Regions from separate parts of the Homo sapiens genome. Here region 2 is linked to region 1. The links are contacts of gene promoters, found by promoter capture Hi-C in human tissues and cell types (Jung and others, 2019). All regions are on one chromosome and are shown on one strand. The core of a region is centred on a gene start or on the middle of the fragment in contact, and the rest is flanking DNA. Distances in the headings are between cores, read along the strand shown.

Region 1 (5,477 bases), core at 2,028-4,527:
CAAAGCAATCTTGAGCAAAAAGAACAAAGTTGGGCCAGGTGTGGTGGCTCACGCCTGTAATCCCAGTACTTTGGGAGGCCGAGGCGGGCAGATCATGAGATCAGGAGTTCAAGACCAGCCTGGCCAACATGGTAAAAAAAAAACCCCGTCTCTACTAATAATACAAAAAAATTAGCCAGGCGTGGTGGTGCGCGCCTCTAGTCCCAGCTACTTGGGAGGCTAAGGCAGGAAAATCACTTGAACCCAGGAGGTGGAGGTTGCAGTGAGCCGAGATTGTGCCACTGCACTCCAGCCTGAGAGACAGAGCCAGAATCCATCTCAAAAAAAAAAAAGCAAAAAAAAAACAAAGTTGAAGGCATCACAGTCCCTGACTTTAAAATAAACGACAAAGTTACAGTAATCAAAACAGCATGGTATTCCATAAAAACAGATGCATTGGCCAATAGAACATACTAGAGAGTCCAGAATTTACAGACAATTGAATTTTGATAAGGAGCCAAGAACACTCAATGGGGAAAGGAATCTCTTTGATAAAAACTGTTGGGAAACCATATATCCATGTGTAGAAAAATGAAATTGGACCCTTATCTCACACCGTATACAAAAGTCAAAATGGATTAAAGACTTACCTGTAAGACTGGAACTACTAGAAGAAAACATAGAGGGAAAGCTACTAGAAGAAAAAATAGAAGAAAGCCACTAGAAGAAAACAGGCGGAAAGCTCCACTACATTGGTCTGGGCATTTTTTTGGACATGACCTCAAGAACACAGGCGAGAAAACAAAAAATAAACACATGGAATTACATGAAACTAAAAACTTCTGCACATCAAAGGAAACAGTTAACAGAGTGAAGAGACAACCTGCTGAATGGGAGAAAATATTTACTAATTATACATCTGACAAGAGGTTAATATCCAAGATATACAAGAAACTCAGTAGCAAGAAAGCAAATAACCTGATTTTAAAAATAGACAAATAATCTGAATAGACTTTTAAAAAAAATTTTTTTTTGTAGAGATGAGGCTTCACTATGTTGCCCAGGCTGGTCTCAGATTCTTGGGCTCAAGCGGTCCTCCCACCTTGGCCTCCCAAAGTGCTGAGATTATGGGTGTGAGCCACCATGCCCAGCCTGACACAGCCATTCTTAAAAGAAGACATACAAATGGCCAACAGGTTTGCGAAAAAAAAAATCACTATTATTAGGGAAATGCAAAATAAGATTACAATATCACCTCACACCTGTTAGCATGGCTATTAAGCTGGGTGTGGTGGCTCACACCTGTAATCTCAGTACTTTGGGAGGCTGAGGTGGGCAGATTACTTGAGGGTCAGGCGTTTGAGACCACCCTGGCCAACATGGTGAAACGCCATCTCTACTAAAAATACAGAAATTAGCCAAGTGTGGTGGCACATGCTTGTAATCCCAGCTACTTGGGAGGCTGAGGCAGGAAGATTGCTTGAACCCAGGAATGGAGGTTGCAGTGATTTGAGATTGTGCCACTGCACTCCAGCCTGGGCAACAGAGTGACTCAATCTCAAAAAAAAAAAAAAAAAAAAAAAAAAAGAATTGCTATTATCAAAATGATGAAAAAAATGTGTTGCTGAGGATGTGGAGAAACCTTTTACACTGTTAGTGTTATTACAGCCATTATGGAAAACTATATGGAGGTTTCCCAAAAAATTAAAAATAGAACTACCATATGATCCAGCGATGCTATTTCTGGGCATATATTGAGTAACTGAAATCAGTATATCAAAGACTTATTTGCACTTCCATGTTCATTTCAGCATTATGCACAATCGCTGAGATAATGGAATCAACCTGTGTCCATCGATGGATGAATGGATAAAGAAAATGTAGTAAACATATGCAATGGATACTATTCAGCCTTAAAAAAGAATTTCTGTCATTTGTGACAACATGAATCAACATATGCAATGGATACTATTCAGCCTTAAAAAAGAATTTCTGTCATTTGTGACAACATGAATCAACTTGGAGGACATACTAAGTGAAAAAAGCCAGGCACAGAAAGACACATACCACATGATCTCACTTATATGTGGAATCTTAAAAAGTCAAACTCATAGAAGTAGACAGTAGAATAGTTGTTAGAGGCTGGAAAGGGACGGGGCGGGTAGGAGATGCAGGATGGGGAGATGCTGTTCAAAGGGTACAAGGTTCAGTCAGACAAAAGCAGCAAGTTTCTGAGATCTATTGCATAGTGTGGTGACTATAGCTAATAATAATATATCGTATATCTCAAAACTGCTAAGAGTAAATTTCAAATGTCTCACCATAAAAAACGTTAAACAAGGTGATGGATATGTTAAGCTTGACTTAGTCGTTCCATATTGTATACATATATTAAAATATAACATTGTACCCCATTAAATATTTACAATTATGATTTGTACATATATTTAATAATAATAAAAATCTAAATAAAATATTAAAGAATGCCTACAAAGCAAGGTTTAAGATGTAAATGAACACAGTAGTATCACGGAAGGGATTAAATATTGTAACATTTATTGAGCACTACGTATATATTTTTGAATTCCCACAACCCTGGAAGAATGAGAAAATCGAGACTCAGGGAGCGTTAAGTATTTTGCCCAACTGCATACGATAAATACATAGGAAAAACAAACACACAGAAGAAAACCAAACCAACCAAAGTATCTCTTTCAAAAGGAAACGACAGTCTCCTTAAAGGCAACCCGAGACAAATTTCAGCAAAGCCGTGGGACACATGGCCTTCGAGCTGCTGTCCATTATTGAGTAGCAGAAGCCAAGAAGGATGGAATGTTTTGGAAGAAAGGGGTCGGGGGTCGGGGTGTTCAAAGGACGGACCGAAGGTAAGATTGAAGTGGGGTCAGACCATGGCGGGACAGCGCACCGGAGAATGAACAGCGATTAGGGAAGAGTGGCGAGCGGGTGGCAAGGACGGAGGGCGGAATCCCGGCCGGGGCTGCGGGAGGAAAGCGCACGGACAGGAGCCCCACCGCTCGAATGCAGCGCCCGGCGGCTGGCCTCGTGAGGTCACAGGCCCTTACGAGGTGGGGCAGGCAGGCGCGGCCGCAGTGCCTTCCAGTCAGCGCGGAGGCGGTATTGAGTTCAGCCGCTCCCCACAGCCCCGGAGCCCCTGGGCGGTGGCGGTGGCCGCGGCAGCACCGGCTCGACAGCCGATAGGGTCCTGGGCCCGCTCCGCTCGGGGTGGTCGGTGGGCGGAGCGTCGGGCTCGGTCAGGTGACCGCGGGGGCGGGGCCGCGCGGCGCGGGATCCTGGGAAGGCTGCAGAGCTAGAGCAGCGCCGCCCGAGGGGCGGCAGGGGCTGACCACAGAGAGCGCGGGGGCCTCCAGCCGAGAGGAAGGGAGGGCAGCTCGGGCCGGTAGTGGGACCCTTGGGGGACAGAGGTGGGGAGGGGAGGCGAGACCCGCTGAGGAGTTGGGAGGGGAGCCTTCGAGGTGGAGGGTGGAGAATGCAGTAGGGTGCGAGGGAGGAAGGAGAACAGTGGTGGGGCTGGGTGAAGGAAGGTTCCAGAAAGGAACAGTGAGGGGACTGAGTGGGACAAAGGGGCAGATTGAAGGGTGACTGAGACTGATCAGGTGGTTCCTCAGAAATGGTGGTTGTTGTAGAAGGCTGGCGGTCCCGGGGGTGGTGTCACTTCCCTGCTCCTTCAGCGGGAGGCGGAGACCTCTATTAGCACACTCATTTCCATCTTGCGGGTCGTTCACTCGCTAGCTTACAGGTCCTCTTTCTTCCTGTAGAAGTCGTTGGCTTCGTAAGAGCAGGGTCTATGGGAAGCCTCCTCAGCGTGGGTTCTTGGAAGAGGTGGAGGTTCGTTCACTCGACGTTTGTTACACAAATATGAAAACAGGGTGACGAAAGTTTGAACGTTCATGAATGGCAGTAGCTGCAATGGAGTTGTGTATGCAGTTGGTATTAATGACGTTTTCAGTCCCTCTGGCGAGAGAAAAGCGAGCGAGTCGGGCGGCTTGTGAGGGAAATGTGGCATGAGAGGAAAGAGGAAGGTATTTTGTGAAAGGATGTCATACAGAGTCATGCTTCAGTGAAGACGCCTTTGTTTTTCTCATCTTAAAGCCTCACAGCCCCATTTTCCTCTCAGCTACTGCCTTATTTCTCTTAACAACGTAACTCCTTGAAAGAGCCTACCCTACTGGCTGGGTTCAATTTCTTTACCCCGTTCTCTCTTGTACTCACTCTGACGACATTGTCTCCTTACCACCCCACCCAGATGGCTCCTTTCAAGTTTGTCAGTGTCCTCCGTGTTGTGAAACCTAGCGAACCATTCAGTACTGATCTTAACCGCCCACCCCACCCCCCTTTTTTTTTTTTGAGACAAGGTCTCTGTCGTCCAGGCTGGAGTGCAGTGGTGCAATCATAGCCCACTGCAGCTTCAAACTCCTGGGCTCAAAAGATCCTCCTGGCTCAGTCTTTGGAGTAGCTGGGACTAAGGTCGCCATGTCCAGCTGATTAAAAAAAAAATTCTGTAGAGGTGGGAGTTTCACTGTTGCCCAGGCTGGTCTTGAACTCCTGGCCTTAAGCAGCCCTCCTGCTTAGACCCCCACCCCCGCATCAAAGTGTTGGGATTACCTGCATAAGCCACCATGCACAGCCTGATTGCTCACTCTTGAAGTACTTTCTTCACTTGGCATTCAGGAACCCAGACCTACCTGATTTCCCTCCTCACAGTAACCAGAGTGATCCTTTCAGAAAGAACTTCAGATTATGTAATCCTTCTCCTCAGAACTCTTTCAATGCTTGTCACTCCTTCAGAGTACAAGCCACAGTTCTTACTGTCATCTAGGGGTCCTCCATGATATGCCACTTTCACTTAGCCTCTCTGATCTCTCCTGCTTCAGCCTCCTGGGGCCTTCCCACTATTCCTTGAACATTCTTCTTGCCTCGGGGCTTTTGTACTTACTTTTCTTTCTGGCTGAAATGCTCTTCCCTAAGATATTAATCAGCTCCCTACTTCAGTTCTTGCAGGTCTGTACTCAAAAGTCTCCCTCTCAGTAAGGTCTTCCTTGGCCACCCATTCTGTTCCCTGCATCTCTTCCCCTATACTACATTTCATATTCCCCTCCCTGCTTTACTTTTTTTTTTGTACTTATTGCAGATAACATACAATATGTTTTATTTTTCTATTTTATTATTTCACTCCCTGACTAGAACATAAGCTTCATGAGGGCAGATTTTATATATATATAAACAAAATATATATATATATATATATATATATATATATATATATAGCATATATATATTTTGTTCATTGGTATATCCCTAGAGCCTAGGAGAGAACCTAGTGCACACTAAGCATGCAGACATATACGTTGAATTCATGGATAGAAAGGTGAATGGATAGATGACTGGAGAAAAGGGATACGACTCCCTCCATTTCTCTTGATTTGTTCCTGCAAGTTCACCGATAGAAGACAGGATTG
Region 2 (4,958 bases), core at 33-2,532, 1.6 Mb after region 1:
GGTCTCGGCTGCAGAAGCAAGACGAAGGGAACGTCAACGTTTGGCAAGCGTTGCAATAAGACACACAGGTTGTGCCACCAATATGGCTCTAAGGCCTACCACCTTCAGAAGTCGACCTGTGGCGGGCCAGGCGCGGTGGCTTACGCCTGTAATCCCAGCACTTTGGGAGGCTGGGGCGGCGGGGGCGGGGGGGGGGGGGGGGAACATGAGGTCACGAGTTCAAGACCAGCCTGGCCAACATGGTGAAATCCCGTCTCTACTAAAAATACAAACAAATTAACCGACCACAGTGGCAGACGCCTGTAATCCCAGCTACTCAGGAGGCTGAGGCAGAAAATTTCTTGAACCTGGGAGGTGGAGGTTGCAGTGAGCCAAGATCACACCACTGCACTCCAGCCTGGACAACAGAGTGAGACTCCATCTCCAAAAAAAAAAAAAAAGTCGACCTGTGGCAAATGTGGCTACCCTGCCAAGCACAAGAGGAAGTATAACTGGAGTGCCAAGGCTCAAAGATGAAATGCCACTGGGACTGGTCGAATGAGACACCTAAAAGCTGTATACCACAGATTCAGGCATGGATTTCGTGAAGAAACAACACCTAAACACAAAAGGGCAGCTGTTGCAGCATCCGAGTCATCTTAACAATTTCAACCGATAGGCCGGGTGCGGTGGCTCACCCCTGTAATCCCAGCACTTTGGGAGCCAAGGCGGCTGGATCACAAGGTCAAGAGATCAAGACTATGCTGGCTGACATGGTGAAACCCCGTCTCTACTAAAAATGCAAAAAAAAATTAGCTGGTCATGGTGGCACATACCTGTAGTCCCAGCTACTCGGGAGGCTGAGGCAGGAGAATTGCTTGAACCTAGGAGGCAGAGGTTGCAGTGAGCCAAGATCGTGCCACTGCACTCCAGCCTGGGCAACAGAGCGACACTCCATCTCAAAAAAAAAAAAAAAAACTTTCAACCATTAGTCATGCAATAAATATTCTGTTTTTTTAAAATAATAATAAAAATTTAAAAAGAATTTCCCTTCATGAAGGGCTCCAAACAGCCTTGGAATGGCTGCATTTATAAACTCAAGTCAGCAGAATTGGGAATGTGGTTGGTGGGCCCACGGAGTCCAGGAGAGTCAGGGGAGAATGCTTCCTTACCCCCTACCAAGCTAGTTAGTCCCAGAACTTTATCATTAAGGTTCTTTATCTAGGGTCTATGGACTGGTCCATAGATGAGACCATTTTGTTTAGTGTAAAATATTTTTAGTGGATACAGCAATGCATTGTTCTTGGGAGAGGGCCCATTGTATTCATTATATTCTCAGAGGAATAGTGAGCAGAAAACAATTAGCAACCATCACCTTAAGAGTTCAGCAATGGTGGCAAAGAGAGGGAATTAACGGGATAACACATAACAGATTAAATTATTAAAAACAGATGTCATGGCTGGCACGGTAGCTCACGTCTGTAATCCCAGCACTTTGGAAGGCCAAGGTAGGTGAATCACGAGGTCAGGAGTTCGAGACCAGCCTGGCCAACATGGTGAAACCGCGTCTCTACTACAAATACAAAAAATTAGCTGGGCGTGGTGGCAGCCACCTGTAATCCCAACTACTCGGGAGGCTGAGGCAGGAGAATCGCTTGAACCCAGGAGGTGGTGGTTGCAGTGGGCCAAGATCGCGCCACTGCACTCCAGCCCAGGTGACAATACGAGAGACCATCTCAAAAAAAAAAAAAAAAAAAACAGATATTACAATCAGAAGCTTCAAAACATCTAGTCCAAGTTCTGATTATTCTCTTTAGTGTAAGGTTTATGACATGGTGGGAATTCTTTTTCATTTATCCCTGGCATTTAACCAAGACAAAAGGCTGGGCCCTGGAGGTCTACTCCAGAGGGCCATAGGACCCAGGATTTTAGGGAAGGGAAGGAGAAGGATCTTCATGGTGTATCTTCTCAGAGGATTGAGGCACAGCAGAGACCTGAACCCCAGGACACTTGCTAATGCCTGTCAGATGGAGGGCACTTGCCTAGGTGCCACGAGCGACGTGCTACCAAACCTTGTTGCACCAAGAGACAGCCCAATGCACTGTAGTCAGTGCTAAGGAGAGAGAGGCTTTGATCCAGGTTCCTGAGTTCCACTCAGTTGTGTCAATTACCTCTGAGGGTATGGAAGTGGCTCCAAGGATGCACATGTTTGCCCTCTGCCCAAGCTGCCAGGGGAAAGCAGCTAAGTGTTGGCCTTGAAAAAGTGAGCACGGAACTAAGAAGCACCAGCTTATGTTCTGCTCCCTCTGTCTGGCCCTTCCTCTCTCCCCCAGCTTAGAGGCCTCCCAGAGGTAGTTAACTGGTCCTTTAAGCAGCTGCCATCCCCTGCAGCCCTTCAGGCCCTGACTTGCAGGTTCTCTGTGCAAGCTTGGCTCAGCCTTTTTGGAAATATAATAGGTATAATACTGTTAAAATGAGGATACTGGAGGAAAAAAGAAGAAAAAATAAGCATGGCAGAGGAAGTAAATGCTAAGATATATAGCTGCCAAGCATGGTGGCTCATGCTTATAATCCCAACACTTTGGGAGGCTGAGGCGGGACAGTCATTTGAGGCCGGGAGTTCAAGACCAGCTGGGCAACAAAGTGAGACCTTGTCTGTCTGTCTCTCTCCTCCCCCCGCCCCCCCACCCCCGCCCCCGTCTCCCTCTCTCTCTCCATATATATATATATATATATGGCAACAAAGTGAGACATTGTCTCCATATATATACATATATATATATATATGGCAACAAAGTGAGACCTTGTCGCCATATATATACATATATATATATATGGCAACAAAGTGAGACATTGTCTCCATATATATACATATATATATATATATATATATATATGGCAACAAAGTGAGACCTTGTCTCCATATATATACATATATATATATATATATATATATATGGCAACAAAGTGAGACCTTGTCTCCATATATATACATATATATATTTTTTTCTTTTTCTTTTTTTTTTTAGACTGAGTCTCACTCTGTCGCCCAGGCTGGAGTGCAATGGTACGATCTCTGCTTGCTGCAACCTCTGCCTCCCGGGTTCAAGCTATTCTCCTGCCTCAGCCTCCCAAGTAGCTGGGATTACAGGCACACACCATCACGCCCGACTAATTTTTGTATTTTTAGTAGAGATGAGGTTTCACCATGTTGGCCAGGCTGATCTCAAACTCCTGACCTCAAGTGATCCACCCACCTCGGCCTCCCAAAGTGCTGGGATTACAGGCGTGAGCCACCGCATCTGGCCTCTAAACATATTTTTAGATAAAAACTGTAAGATCTATAGCCAGGGGAAGGGCAGCTGGCTACCGTGTTCTCATTTCCATTCTGCTCACCAGTTATGCAACACCCACTGAATGTCAGGTCCAAGTGATAGAAAGATAGGTGCCCCCATGCTTCTTGCCCAGGAGGAGGTCATATCTAGTGGCCAGAGGGATGAGTAAAAAGCCATTAAAATAAAAAGTAGTGCATGTTATAATAAAGGTATGAGTAATCAGCCATGAGAACCAGAGGAGGGAGTAATTAAAAATAATAATAATAATATGCCTGGAAGTGTCAGTGTTTAGCAGAGAAAGTAATATTCCAGCCAGCCTTGAAGAATGAGTAAGAATAATAAGAGTTAATAATTATTGAACATTTCCAGTGACCAGGCATTGTATACATTCATTATCACATGATCTTAGTAGCTACTATTATTTTCTCAATTTTGCTGATGAAGAGCAGAGGTTCATAGAGCTTAAACAACTAGGATTTCCCTACCTAGGATATGGTAGAGGTAAAGAGTATTCCAGCGGGCAGCAGTAGCTCATGCCTGTAATCCCAGCACTTTGGGAGGCCGAGGCGGGCGGATCACCTGAGGCCAGGAGTTCGAGAGCAGCCTGACCAACATGGAGACACCCCATCTCTACTGAAAATACAAAATTAGCCGGAAGTGGTGGTATATGCCTGTAATCCCAGCTACTTGGGAGGCTGAGGCAGGAGAATCGCTTGAACCCGGGAGGCAGAGGTTGCAGTGAGCTGAGATCGCACTATTGCACTCCATCCTGGGCAACAAGAGTGAAACTCCATCCCACCTCAAAAAAAAAAAAAAAAGAGTATTCCAAGTAGAAAAAATGGGCAAAGGCTTGGAGGGGGGAGAAGGTACACTGGAAAGTGAGATGCCAATTATTTGTACAGTCCTTGCCACTTTACAAAAGCTTCTGGAAATGCCACACTTAATCCTCAGGGAAACCTTGAGAGGTAGGAATTTTCACTATTCTATATTGCAAAATATAGGCTGCAAAAATAGGCTTCAAAGAAGGTAAGAGATGCAGATTAAAAACCTGAACCTCCATCTAAATCTAAGGTAAGGGTTTTCTGTTCATTGCCCCATCACTACCAGACCTTGTACTTGAAAATAATGGTCCAGTGGTGAGATACACTGAGGAATCCCCTCACCCCATGGGCCACCTCTGGGCCTTTGTATTCTGTAGCTATGGAGGAGCTATGGAATAGTGTTTTTCTTTGTATGAGGTTACCAAGCAAACTGACCTTTGACCACCTTACTGAATAAATAATAATCAAGCAAAATTCTGGAGTCCTTTTTTTTTTTTTTTTTTTTTTTGAGACATAGTCTCCCTCTGTTGCCCAGGCTGGAGTGCAGTGGCGTGTTACCTCCCGGGCTCAAGTGATTCTCCTGCCTCAGCCTCCCAAGTAGCTGGGATTACAGGTGCCCACCACCACGCCCAGCTAATTTTTGTATTTTTAGTAGAGATGGGGTTTCACCATGTTGGCCAGGCTGGTCTCAAACTCCTGACCTCAAGTGATCCGTGCACCTCAGCCTCCCAAAGTGCTGGGATTATAGGCATGCGCTTTGCAATCTCAGCTCACTGCAACCTCCACCTCCCGGGTTCAAGCAATTCTCCTGCTTCAGCCTCCC

The links. The method cuts DNA at HindIII sites, captures the fragments that hold promoters and counts their contacts. A contact is called where the count stands out against the background at its distance.
Region 2: a contact is called between a fragment that was not itself captured here and the fragment with the promoter of EFCAB13 in region 1, in 1 of the 25 tissues and cell types used here (heart left ventricle).

The regions. Positions count from the first base shown.
Region 1 is chr17:47,320,678-47,326,154 of GRCh38, forward strand. EFCAB13 (EF-hand calcium binding domain 13) reads left to right here and starts at 3,278. Exons shown (of 25, transcript NM_152347.5): 1 at 3,278-3,397; 2 at 3,777-3,846. EFCAB13-DT (EFCAB13 divergent transcript) reads right to left here and starts at 3,224. Exons shown (of 3, transcript NR_110880.1): 1 at 3,012-3,224. RefSeq lists a silencer at 3,007-3,416 and enhancers at 3,757-3,846, 3,887-4,066. The HindIII fragment of the contact is 8,264 bases long and covers 1-5,477 here.
Region 2 is chr17:48,899,110-48,904,067 of GRCh38, forward strand. The region is part of intron 1 of LOC105371814 (a long non-coding RNA gene); the gene reads right to left. It also overlaps the pseudogene LOC100419622. Among named protein-coding and RNA genes, the nearest start is that of UBE2Z, 6.8 kb to the right of the region's middle. The HindIII fragment of the contact is 4,077 bases long and covers 1-3,321 here.